3 separate regions of the Homo sapiens genome follow, and regions 1 and 3 are each linked to region 2. Evidence: promoter capture Hi-C in 16 types of primary human blood cells and fetal thymus (Javierre and others, 2016). All regions are on one chromosome and are shown on one strand. Each heading gives the region's core, a stretch centred on a gene start or on the middle of the fragment in contact. The rest is flanking DNA. Distances are from core to core; before and after follow the strand shown.

Evidence for each region. The method cuts DNA at HindIII sites, captures the fragments that hold promoters and counts their contacts. A CHiCAGO score of 5 or more calls a contact.
Region 1: a contact is called between the fragment with the promoter of FBXO38 here and the fragment with the promoter of TCERG1 in region 2, in 2 of 17 cell types (total CD4 T cells and naive CD8 T cells). The highest score is 7.7, in total CD4 T cells.
Region 3: a contact is called between a fragment that was not itself captured here and the fragment with the promoter of TCERG1 in region 2, in 1 of 17 cell types (total B cells). The highest score is 6.7, in total B cells.

The regions. Positions count from the first base shown.
Region 1 is chr5:148,381,849-148,386,160 of GRCh38, reverse strand. It overlaps FBXO38 (F-box protein 38), which reads right to left and starts at 2,203. Exons shown (of 22, transcript NM_205836.3): 1 at 2,122-2,203. FBXO38-DT (FBXO38 divergent transcript) reads left to right here and starts at 2,311. Exons shown (of 5, transcript NR_105057.1): 1 at 2,311-2,662. RefSeq lists an enhancer at 2,227-2,426. The HindIII fragment of the contact is 17,680 bases long and covers 1-4,312 here.
Region 2 is chr5:146,445,709-146,449,977 of GRCh38, reverse strand. TCERG1 (transcription elongation regulator 1) reads right to left here and starts at 2,645. Exons shown (of 23, transcript NM_001382548.1): 1 at 2,570-2,645. The coding sequence starts at 2,628. RefSeq lists a silencer at 2,277-2,356 and an enhancer at 2,275-2,982. The HindIII fragment of the contact is 4,342 bases long and covers 1,060-4,269 here.
Region 3 is chr5:148,399,913-148,404,078 of GRCh38, reverse strand. It overlaps FBXO38 (F-box protein 38), which reads right to left. Exons shown (of 22, transcript NM_205836.3): 4 at 1,934-2,097; 5 at 1,566-1,731. Among named protein-coding and RNA genes, the nearest start is that of FBXO38, 18 kb to the right of the region's middle. The HindIII fragment of the contact is 173 bases long and covers 1,789-1,961 here.

The sequences.
Region 1 (4,312 bases), core at 954-3,453, 1.9 Mb before region 2:
TCACCAATTAGGATTTATGGTCCATTTAATTTAGGCTCCCATGCAGTGGTCTATGGCCACCTTTGGTATATTACAGTCACTCTGTGGCTGCCTGCTTAGCTGACCTTAGCCACAGGAAGCATTACTTTTGTCTTGGTGTTGCAAGCACATTCTTAAACCAGAGTTGTTTCCAAAAAGTGTTCTCCTATCTCGTCAATTCAAATCTCCTTCCCATCCCAAACTCAAATTACTTTTCTTTACCCTCGTGAAAAATACCCCCTCTCACTTGAAACTTCCCTATATTCTCAATGATCCTATCTGGTCAAGGGCTTCCCTGCCCTTCAAGTTTCTCATGCCTTTCTTTAGTTTCTATTGGTTTCAGCTTGCTCATATCAAAGTAATCTTGCATATCACTTAATTTGACCTCACAGACCTTAATTGACATCATAGACTATCTTGTGTATCTACTGACCAGGACAGCCTCTCTTGTCTAAAGAAATACCACACCACATAAACCAAACTGCTCAGATAAAAACCACACACAAACAAAACAAAACAAAAACCCCCCAACAGGATGATGGTGCTGAAAAAGGCCTAGGAATCATCCAGCTCAACCCTTCGTTTTACAGATAAGGAAAGTGAGGCCTAGAGATGTTAGATGGCTTGTCCAAAGTCACAGAGGCAGGATGTACCAGTGTGAAGCAGGGATACAGGTCTTCAACTCCTTTTTAATTTTATTTCACTATACCACCTTATTTCATTTTAGTATACCACCAATTTTACTTCACTATATCACCCTATCTTACTGGAATCTAGTTGTCCCTTTTTCTCCTCTGCTATGCATTAGTATCTGTTTGACTAAATATAAAGTGTGTACCTCTGGGCACACAGCCATTTAAACAAAGAGGCACACAAAACTCTACATTCTTTACCCAAGGAGGACATCAGAATTACAGCATCACATATTTTAAAGAGGGGAAAGAAGGCTTACAGATAATCTAAAATGTTAATTCTCAAAATGAAAGTTAAAAATTACAAGCGGATTTTTTTCAGTCTATGCCTATGTAATACATACCCTCCAGACTGGACCTCCTCCTTCCCTGGGAAAATCATGGCTTTATAGAACTATTATTTTATCCTTCACTTGTGCTGGGGGAATGGGAAAGGGGATTAAAAACCAGTGACCTAATCCAACGTCTTCCTTTAGCAGATAAAAAAATCTCAAGTTCAGAGAGAGGAAGGGATTTGGCCAAAGTAAACCATCAAGTTAATAGCAACTTTGGAACAAAAATCAAGGTCTCCTGTTTTTCACTTTGTAGTGATTTACACTGCTGGTTTAGGTGTATAAAACAAAGTTTTCTGGACAGAGCTTCTCATTGCACAGGAACCTTCCTAAGTGACCAGTTGCCCTTGGCCAGCTTGGTGTCTGCAAAGAAACACGGTAGACATCTCTTAGTCAAATTCTGGGTGTGCAGAGTGCAGGGAGAATATGCTTTTCAGGTCTGTAAAGACTCCATGAAAAGGGAGTTAAGAATCTGATTTCCACAGCTAGGGCACGGACATCAAAGGCATCCAACACAGATAAGCAAACTGCAGCACAGAAAAGCTAATGGACCTAGACAAGGTCACACGGTGTGTAGGTGGAAGGGGTGAAACTAGAATTCAGGGCTCCTGATACTCAGGCGTGGCAGCCAAAGATGTGTTCACTGCTTCCTGCTCAGGGACATCTCCTCACTACGCTGAACACAGACCTCCTTCACTTTACTGGCCGAAACACCGACTTAACATTAAAATCATGAAATTCGTGACGCCCGGGGTGGGAGACAGTCACAGAAGCTGTCCAGTCCAACACCCTCACCCATTTCATTGAGGAAACTGGGGCCCAGAGAGAGTTCTTTATGCTGGATTTTGGGGCCAGGTTCAGACAAGCAGGCAACCCCCGCAAGCACGGCCTAGAAGGCCAGGAACTACAAATTCAACCCCTGATCTCTCAAGGAGCTCTAGGCCCCAAGGGGGCCAGAGGCCGAGCTTAAGCGGTCGGAAGTTCCAGAATCCCCACCCAGCTACCTCAGCCCTGCCGCACGCACTCCGGGCTTTGCCACCCCGCTCCCGGTCCCCAGGCCCACTCAGCCGCCGCCTCACCTACGCCGACCCTCCGCCTGTTATTGTGGTTGAGAGGGAGGGACGCTACAGACACTTCCCCGGCCCCTACCGCTGAGGCACTTCCGCTTCCGCCGCCGCTCGCATATTTCCGGAGTGTTGTCATCCGGGGCTGGAGCCTCAAACCCGTGTCCATATTGTGTGTGTGAAGAAGCATCGAAGCGCGGCAGCCATGTTCAGCGTGGCATTTCGGAAGGCTTGTCAGGGGTGGAGAAGCGGGGCGGGTTGCTGTTCTTTCACCTGACACTAAAGCGCCATGCCGGAAGCACTGAGTCTGATACGTCGGAACCAGTCTCCACCGTGTGGTTTGGTCTTGATTTCCACTGGTACTCTGGGGTCTTGGATAAGTCTCTGGACCTCGCCTTTGTCATTTGCGAAGTCGATAGGTTCCAATAGAGATTTTCCCAGAATCATTCAACTAAAAATAGAGAACTTTTTTTTTTTGAGAGGAAGGACGGGGGCGCAGTTAAAGATGTTAATGTTAAGTCATCCCTTCTGTGATTTCGGGACATTATCTTTGCACGTAAGTAATAGTATTTTACAGTCCAAAGGAATTTCACATGAGTGTCATTAAAAACTCTACACGACTCTGACATGTAGGCAAGGATCAACTTAATCACCTTTTCTGTTGTTTAATGGATAAGGAATTGTCTTCAGAGAGTGTAATTGATTTTCACAATGTCTCGCAGATGGACTGAAATTCAGATTTTTACCTTTTACATCCTGTGTTCTTGCCCTAATATACATGTAATTAATATGGGCTAAAATCCCTAGATTTAAATAGATACAAATACTTCTTAGGAAAGTTAGTGTGCATTAAAGCCATGTGAGACACAATTTGACAAGACGTAGCATTGACTAGGCTATTCTGCTGGAGAAGAAAAAGCTGAAGAAGGCTTGGGAATCCCATTTCTTCTTATTCTTTTCTTGATTGATAGCAGACCTACTGGTTTTTCCCCTCTTTCCCCAATATGGTTCGGCACCTTAGGTTTCAGCTTGTCTTAGGCAGTCACAGTTTTAGCTATCCCATTCCGTATGTCAAACCATATATCTGTGTTTTTATTTGGAGCTCTGGTAGGACAAACAAAACAAAACCTCATCATATTCATGTACTATTCATTGTAATCTCAGCTTTCATGTTACATTCTTCCTGTAATTGAAGACAAAAATGAATTTTTATGCTATTTGCTTCTGTCGGTTTCTTCATATTCAAACTTTAATAAAGGAAACAGACTTTAGCTTTTTCTGTTTCCCAGGTTATTCTGAAGAATAAATAGGAATTACGAAAGTTTCTAGTGCAGGGCATGGCATATTTAGAAGGCATTCAGTAAGATTTATTTCAGCACAATTGGCCTGAATTTTTAATTCAATGGAATATGATTTTCATTTTATTAGCATTCCTCCTTTTGTAAAAAGCACTGTAGTGGGACCTGAAATGAATACTCATGAGTAAGAAAGGTTTCCTACCTCAAGTTTAGAAAATTTCCTACCACAAATCATTGTAATAAATGTTAAAGATATTTTCTCACTGCTATGAGTGTTATATATAATAAGATATCAAAACTAGTTTTAACATTTTCAGGTAGAGCATGTTATATGTATCCCTTCATCTCTAGGATTTATTTGTACCTTGATGTTACAGGTTTTCATTAAAAAGGTCCTGAGTTAGTATTTCTCCTGTACAGTGGCACCATCATGGGGTCCCTGAGCGCTGCAGGAAAGTTTGCCCTACAGTAAATGACCTTAAACCGCTGTGTTGTTTTAATTTTCAATCCCCACTTTTTAATTAAATTCTAAAGTATCTCTTTTCATTCTTCCATGAGTTCTAGTATCAGCCCGTGTTCTTCCTTGAAATTCCTTAGGTACCTAAACAACAGATAATCCCTTTGTTAAAATGATGACTAATACTCAAGAGAAGTTTTGGTCAGGGATAGTGGTTGGAGTTTGCTCAGGACAGGTTCATATGGCTATGGAGCCTGTTCAGTGCACAACTGCAGAAGGTGCTATGCATATCAAGGCTATTCTTAACTACCCTTAGACTTGGCGTATATGGCAGAACTCCACTATGAATTCAAATACAGGATTTTTTTTGAAGGTAAAAAGGAAAAAAAAAAACTATTGTAGCTGTTTTGACTGAGAAGTTGTGTATTTAGTAGTCAGCAATGCAGGCTTT
Region 2 (4,269 bases), core at 1,396-3,895:
TTTACAGAGGAAATGATAGCACAGAAAAATATTTTCTTAAGGCAGCTAGTCAGTGATAACACCAGAATATTCTTATTCTCATTTTATAGATAAGGAAATTTAGATTGCAAGTATCTTAAGTATTGATAGGTAAACAAAGGCTCTAGGGAAAGGATCTATACAAATGACTCTGGAAGTTACTTTAATGGTATTTGGAACGTCTATAAATTTTCCATCTATTGTGATTTGCATTCCTACCACTTACAACCTTTCTGAAAAACAAAAGCCTACTTGCATGAATAGAAGGAACAAAAATATTTCACAAGAACATCATGGAAATACAAACATAAGGTATTTTTCTACAATAGAAGTTCTCTATCCAGATATGCAATCTCCCCAATGCTAAAGACAATACTTTAACTGGAGGGGCAAGAAATAAAAAGATGCTACCGATATATGGGGGCAAATTGTATAAACTATGATTGAGGAGACCTGAGGTTTAGTCCAGACCCTGCCAACTACCCAGTGACCTTGTGTAAGTCACTTCACACTTACAGGCAGATTTAATCATTTGATGTGGTTGATTTCATTTACAATTTAGATGGCTCTTACTTAAGCTGGAAGCTCCTGCAGGACAAACCTCTTTTTTCGGTCTGGTTCAGGGCACTATTACCAGCACCTAGGTCAGCAACTGTCATGTAGCACACAATAAATGTCGGCCCAATAAGTGAAGTATCTTTAAATCTCCTATCTTCATTTATTTACAACATAACTACAGAACATCTCATTTGCCAGGCGGTTATGACAGACACACCATGAAGTACATTCAGGTTACAAATATAATGCAAAAATTAAGCCCCAACTTCTGCCATCAAAGAGGCCACATACACACCTAATTTCATGAGAAATGCTAAAATAAAGATCTGTACAGTATGCTCTGCAAGCAACTTCCAATCCAAGAGGCTACGGTATAAAATATTTGCAACAGGGCAAATTCATTTGCAAATTAAAGCTCTATTCAAATCAGTTGTGCAACAGTGTCTAGACTATTAATAAAGCCATTTGGATTTTTTTAAAGCTTTAGAAAGATACTTTCTAAAATGCAAAAGAATGTTCCCTAATAAATCCATCTGAAACTAGCTAAGTAACCTCCCTTTAAGATCGAAATCAGGAATAAACTTGGCATCGCTAATATTTAAAGATGCTGACAATTCACCTTGATCACTCATTAATACTGTATACATATGGAGTTTAAAGGATTTCAGATTCATCTCTGAAATAAAACAAAATTTCATTTCTGCCAAAGTGGAGATTTGTGTGTGCGACCATACAGAATCTGAAAGGCATTTTCCTCTTCTAAAACCTTGAATAACAATACCCATTTCCTTACACAATTTCATCTTAAGTTCAAGACAGTATCAACAGAGTCTTCATAATCTACCCTGCTCTTTTTCATTTTCAAACGTTGACAACAGCACAATTCAGAATGGGAGCTGAACATCTGAAATGCCATTTCTCCCATACAGAAAAAAACCAAAGTACCAAATACACATAAAGCATAATACCTCTTTTCCTCAAAAACCACTGACCAAAAGATTTCTCCAGGTCACTCTCATTTTACCAAATTTTAATTACAAACTCATAGACACTGAGGTTCCAGGGGAAAAAAAGGTCACTGCACTGTTCAAGGAAATGGCATGAGTAGTAGACGAATAGAACGCCAATTGGGATTGCAGGCTCTGAAACCTGACTGCCTGAGTTCAAGCCACTTCCTGGAGCCACAAATCCGCCTATGCAATCTTATTCTACTGACTCAACCTCCACGAGGCTGTTATCTCACCTGTAAGATGGGCGAGTAACAACTGAAGACCCCTCTGGTCTGTGGCCTGCAAAATGTTAATAGCAACTACTCCAAAGGGTGGTTGTGAGGATTAAATGAGACAAACCTAAGTAAAGGGTTTACTGGCACACGGTAAGTGCCTAATAAGGGGTTGCTACTGTTGTTGTTACTCACAACTACAGGATAATAAGGAATAAAGGGATGAAAAAAGGAAGAAAAGCCACAGAAGTTAAGAAAGGCAAGCAATGAGGGGGATGAAATGAAAGGGCAAACGTGGGGAGCCCAAAGAGCCGCGGAGGGCGTGGAGAAGGCTTAGCCAGAAGTGGCGAGGGGTACAGGGAAAGTAACTGCGGAGTGCAGAGACGTCGATGAGGAAAATCAGGCCCGCAGCGGAGCGCGGCCTGGGGACAGACTCAGGTCGGCCGAGACGGAGGCGACACGCGGCTGAGGCGGGGCCCAAAGGCGGGAGCACCGCGCCCGGCCAGAGGGCTGCAGGCCGCGAGAGGCGGCGAGGCCCCAAGAAAGCACTAGGAAGCAGCCAGGGAACGCGCAGGAGGCCCTGGCCCAGCCCGGGCCCGGCTCTCATTCAAGCCACCTTCCCCTTCCCCCTTCTTAAACCCCATGCGGTCCCGGCCCGGGCCGCCCGGCTCCGCTACCCACCGTCCGCCCCGGATCTCCACATGGCAGGTCTAGCGTCTAGCCTCTGGGGCTCTCGTGAGCAGAGATGTGAAGGAGGGCAGCGTTCCTTACCTGAGCTCCCCCGGGTTGAATCGTTCACTCTCGCCCCCGTCCCCGCCACGCTCCGCCATTACAGAGGGCCGCGTTCATCCACCCGCCGACCCGACGTCTCCTATTGGCTAGAAAAATCGTCAATCCCCAACGAGAGAGGCGGAGACAGCAGAAGTCTGAGATGCGGTTGGTCAAACTTTCCATCAATCTTCGAAATGGGGGCGATATGTTCTTTGCTATTGGGCAAGGCGCCCGCCGACTTTGAAAGCGGTATGAAGACAGCCAGTTGATTGGTGACTCGGGGGCTTTATGGGAAATGAGATTTTAGCAGTGAGGAACCGCCGGCGCCCTCTCGCGGTAAGCAGAACTAAGTCCTCCCAAGTTCGGCTCAGCCTGCGGTAGCCACGTGTCTGTCGGCTTCCAGGAGAGCCAATTGTGGAGCCATATTGGCCAGTAGTAGCTCAGGCGGAGAGCATTTCCACTGGGCAAGCCAATCAAAATCGACCTGGGCCGCGCCTAAACCGATTGCACAGTTGCTGTGGAAAGCCGCTATTTCCTAGCTTTACAGTAGCAGGAGTCTTAAGTCACCACTCAGCTCTATATCCATGTTATTAAATAATATATTATTAATTACAAGAATACCTCCCAAATTATACTAAACCGTTGCAAGCCAATAGGTGTTATAAGTTGCTGCATTAAGAAAGGTAAATTGGCGAAGGCAAGCCTCTTTGCAATTTACAGCTTAACCACGTCTCCCTCGATCTCAAAATGTGCTTGTCTGAAATTAGCACACCCAGAATACCAGACAATTCTGAATATTTATTTAGTTTTTCTAATTAACAAAAAAAAAAGTTTTGGATTTGGGGTTTCAAAGGCACAATGAAGATGAGCCCTTTTATTAAAGTCGTAAAAATATTAAAATAATACTAATAGATAAATTTTACTTGGACCTAACCATGTAGCAAACCCGGATCTAAGTATGTCAGGTACGTTAACTCTTTTAAGATTCAAAAATTGCTAGGAGGTGGGTAACATAGTCACTGTTTGTAGATGAGCTTGAGGCACAGAGAAGTTAAGTAACTTGCCCAAGGTCACACATCTACTAAATAGCAGAGCCTGGTCTTAACCCCAGTCAGCGTAGTAGCAAAGCAGCACTCTTAAATACTGTAAGCCTAAATAATTGGATCCACATAAAAACATGTGCACAAATGTTCACAGCAGCAATATTCATAATAGCCAAAAAGTATTGTAACAACCCAATGACCATCAGCTGATGCATGGTTAAGAAGCATGGTATAGGCCGGGCGCGGTGGCCCAAACCTGTAATCCCAGCACTTTGGGAGGCCTAGACGGGCGGATCACGAGGTCAGGAGATCAAGACCATCCTGGCTCACACGGTGAAACCCTGTCTCTACTAAAAACAAATAGCCCGGCGTGGTGGCGGGCGCCTGTAGTCCCAGCTACTCGGGAGGCTGTGGCAGGAGAATGGCGTGAACCCCGGAGGCAGAGCTTGCAGTGAGCAGAGATCGCGCCACTGCACTCCAGCCTGGGCAACAGAGCGAGACTCCGTCTCAAAAAAAAAAGAAACATGGTATAACTGTACAATGAAATATTGTTCAGACATAAAAAGCCACATACAAAAAGGCCGCCTGTTGTATGATTCCATTTACATGAAATATGATGAAATTGCATTGCATTTCAGGCAAATACATACAGACAGA
Region 3 (4,166 bases), core at 626-3,125, 2.0 Mb before region 2:
TTTATTTTAGAATTTCAAATTGGTAAAGGTAATTTGATGCATGGGATCCAGGAGTGGCTTAATACTAGGAATCATATCCACAGAGGACCATGACCAGAAGAAGGGAGGTGTAGCGTGAGGTGAAAAAATACAGGAAATATGGATGAAAGAAGATAAAAGCCAAGGAAGGGACACAAATTTATTAAAGAAATCCAAGGATCCAGGATGATGGCATTTAACAAACAGTAGTTGGCAAAACTGTTTAATGCAATTTTTAAATTTGAGACAATAGGAGCTCTGCTAGCAAGAATAACTAGAGAATGTAAAATTGCAGTACTTGAATGGTCAGTTGTTTATAAAGGCTAAATTCTACCAAATGTTCTTATTGTAACCTACAAGGATTACCCCTTAACTTGTTCCTCTCAAAATAGCAGAGTTAAATTTAGTTTGAACTATGCACACACATTGTATAGCAACAAATGGGAAGTAAAATTAAGGATGAGACAAAAGGACAAAAAGCAGAAGTGAGGTACAGATTGAGATGTAAGATGCAGAAGTCACAAAGGTTAAATTTAGCATATATTGTAATACTATGAAGATGGTAGTACTGATTGTACTGATTAGGAAACCCAAGGAAGAAGGGTGAGACAGATGCAGAGAAGACAGTATACCCCAGGCCCAAACCACTTTCTGTCTCAAACAAACTCTATAAACAAAGGACATAACTGCCCATTCTCCTGGTAATGTTTATTTTTATTAATTTACCACACCTCTGCATCACCATAATACAGTGTTAAACTGTTAAATGATTCCCATAAATTAATGCATTTTAATAAAACTTACCCTGTACTTATATTTGCAATGAACTGTGACAGGCATTGTAGAAAATATAAAGATATGGAAATAAGTCTTTGACCTTAAGGAGCTTATATTATAAATTCCAGATATTACAGAATCCTTTTACATCTAAAAATCCAATTTCAAACTAGATATCACTCCCTGATCTTATAAATGAAGGGTTGCTAGAAATCTTTACTCTTCTCCCATAATTGTGTATCTAAGTCTTATTTAAGACCTACTCCTTATCATTCCTGATGCTCTCCCTGTACCACCTGAGTTTCAGAAATTTCCACTTCTTTAGACCATCCCCAATACCTAGAATAATGCTTAAAACACATATACTCTCTCTCTCTCTGTGTATGTGTGTGTATATATACAGAATAAAGTAGTAAACAAATATTAAAGGCCAGCTATATTAACAGGGACCCCCGAATTCCTTTCAGTGGCCTAAGCCAAAGGTGACAAATTTGAGAAAATATTTACACTTTTTACTTAAGTTGAAGTTACTGGTATATAATTTCAAAGAATATTCAGATGGAGAATGTACACTTGTGAAGCAGTATTTCCCTCACACCAGTGGATCTTTAATGGGAAATCGGAATTTTTATACAGATCTTGCAAACATTTATTTTGCAATCATCAATCAACAAAGCCATCTCTAAAATTCTCATTATTCTTTTTCAGTGAATATTCACATTTTATGGCATTTCAAGGAGTTACAAGTGACCCAAGAAACATGTACTCACCAACTAAATGTAAAGTTTGAATTTTGGCTCCTATAGGAATTTTCAGTTTATTTTCAGGAGGAATTGGAAAAGCTCCATTACGATTACGAAATTTCCCCAAAATATGAACATGGGGCATATATGTCCAAATGGATTCTACCAACTCCAAATGAGAAGTTTCCACACCCTAGAAAATAATGCCAAAGCAAGCATAAGAAAAGACTTTAGTTTAGCATCCAAAGCTTTATGTACCACAAGATGCTAAGTACACAATGGAACTTAAAAGTTTGTGACAGATGAGATTTGCATGTGAGTGAACACGTCTATCATTCTTTGGTCTATTATTTCATAAACAGTTGATGCCAAAATGTTCAACCAGGTGCACTCACCACTAAGTTTGGGCATGCCTGCAAAGCTTCTAGGACTCCTGGAATGCTAAAAGCCTCATGGCCCCTTACTCTTCGCCTCTCAAGGTATCGAGGGTGAAGGCCATATAGCTGTTCAACATCTGGCATCTTCTTTAATAGTGTTAGAAAACTGGCATCTGTAAAGCCTGAGAAGTTCAGAAGTATTTAGAGCCAGGTTCATCTTTCTGTTCATTAACATTTACTAGGCACTCGTGATTTTTACCAAAAGTTAAAAAAGACTTCCTCTTCAAATTTCCGTAAAGCTAACACTAAAGCTGAATAAACATAACAGAAAATATACTCCTTTAGTAACAGAGGAAATGAGTCAGAAACTCCACTTAATCTAAGTTAATACTTTATGGAGGAGGCTTTTATTATTGACTTTTTGGTTTTTGTTGCTTTTAAGGCATAGAAATCTTCAACAAAGAACACACTTTTAACCCAGATAACTTGGACCTATTTGGTGGATGGAGTGGGACCACCCACCTGATCACCACCACCCTCCTCCTCCCCCATGGGTACTCTCGTCTGTAAAACCTTCAGGACTCTATAGAACACATAACTAAAAATATAAATAAGATATGATCCTCATCGTTAGGAAGCTCACAGTTCTGACCTAATTCCTATCTCAAATTATTCTATCCATTTTCTAATAATTACTCTGATACTCTGTCATATGTTTAACTATTACTCCCCCGCCATTTTAGACAATTAATTCTTTTGAAAAAGACAGATGCAAGTTAGCTAAGAGAACCAGAGTGATCCAATCTCAGGGTATGCTGTTGATAGGAAGCTATCTATCCAGGAGACCATAGTAGGAATCAACAAGATGGGAACAGAGAGAGGCAGGTTACTTCCACAGCAGGAGCTGTTGGTTAAGTAAGTGGGGAGACAAGTCTCATATAGATCCTATTTTAATCTGTTACAAGGGCTTTTTTATTTTTAATGAAAGTGGTCAGAAAGCCAACTGTCTGCTTATTAATGACAAAGAAAAACATTAACTGTCAAGAACAAAAAGTAGGCCCCAAATATTTAAGTCTTACATACTTTTTTGAAAGTTGTTTTATTTTTAAGTTATCTCATTTAACATGTAAAGTCCAGACATGCTAACTTTAGTGAAGAGTAAGGAGAGACCAGAGATTACTTGGTCTCTAATTATAATAACAGTTCTTATTACTTTCTTGTATAGTAACTTTTAATGACTGAACGATTCAATGTGTTAATCATTTTTTTTCATTTATTCTCACAACCAAATCAGAAAGGTTATCACCCCATATACAAGCATAAAAAATGAAGTTGAGAGAGTTTAAGAGCTTCCAAATGGCAGTGCTGGAATCTAAAACCAAGTGTAACCCCTGCAATGTTTATCCTCTTTTGTCATACATGTTGCCTCCCACGAGAGAAATGGGGAAAGTTCTATCTTCTTTACAGAGATGGAGTGAGAATCCAAAGAGATCATATACGTAAACCATAAAGTACTATTATATAAAGGATCTGAGTTAAATGCCAGATAATAGGCCAAGGTGGCATTAGTGAGCAAGGTTAGTGTGATCTTATCCTAGGCTAGAGACTGTTTGCTTCAACTCTCTTTTACATTCATTGCAAAGATGGGAAGCCTTGGGCTCACAGGTTATTTATCATAGCCTAAAAGTCAGCAACATGCAGTCAAATTCTTCTCTAATTGGTAAGTGGTAGTGATGTTAATGGTAAGACTATATCACATGGGAGTTCTGCCATCCTGTCTTTATATACTGTGTTAATCCCGTCTTCAGAATTCCAGCTGGCCTAACCTTTGCAAAAGTAAATCTAATATAAGGAATAAGACAATCATTTTCACACTGCCCTAATTTTTTTTCTTTCCTGACATACAGGATCATTCTGAAACAAGATGAGATGAGGCTTTTGCCCTTAGAATGGCTTTTATTAAATATCTGAAAGTAACCGTGGTTTGCCTCCCACAAACCTATTAATAAGCTCCAGCCTCAGGTGTTTGCAATGTTCTTTATAAGAAAGTATATATTGATAACTACTATGGCCAGCTGATAAGAGTTACCAACTGATTTGATGACTCTCTTGAAAGGATGCAGCATCCACCTGCACAATTCCAGTATTCCAGAGCTAATCTGTTCTGTTCTATAGAACAGAACAAGACAATTATCTCCTCCAGCCCTTCACTTCTATTAAGGCTTTTTTTTTTATTTTTATTTTTTGGTTC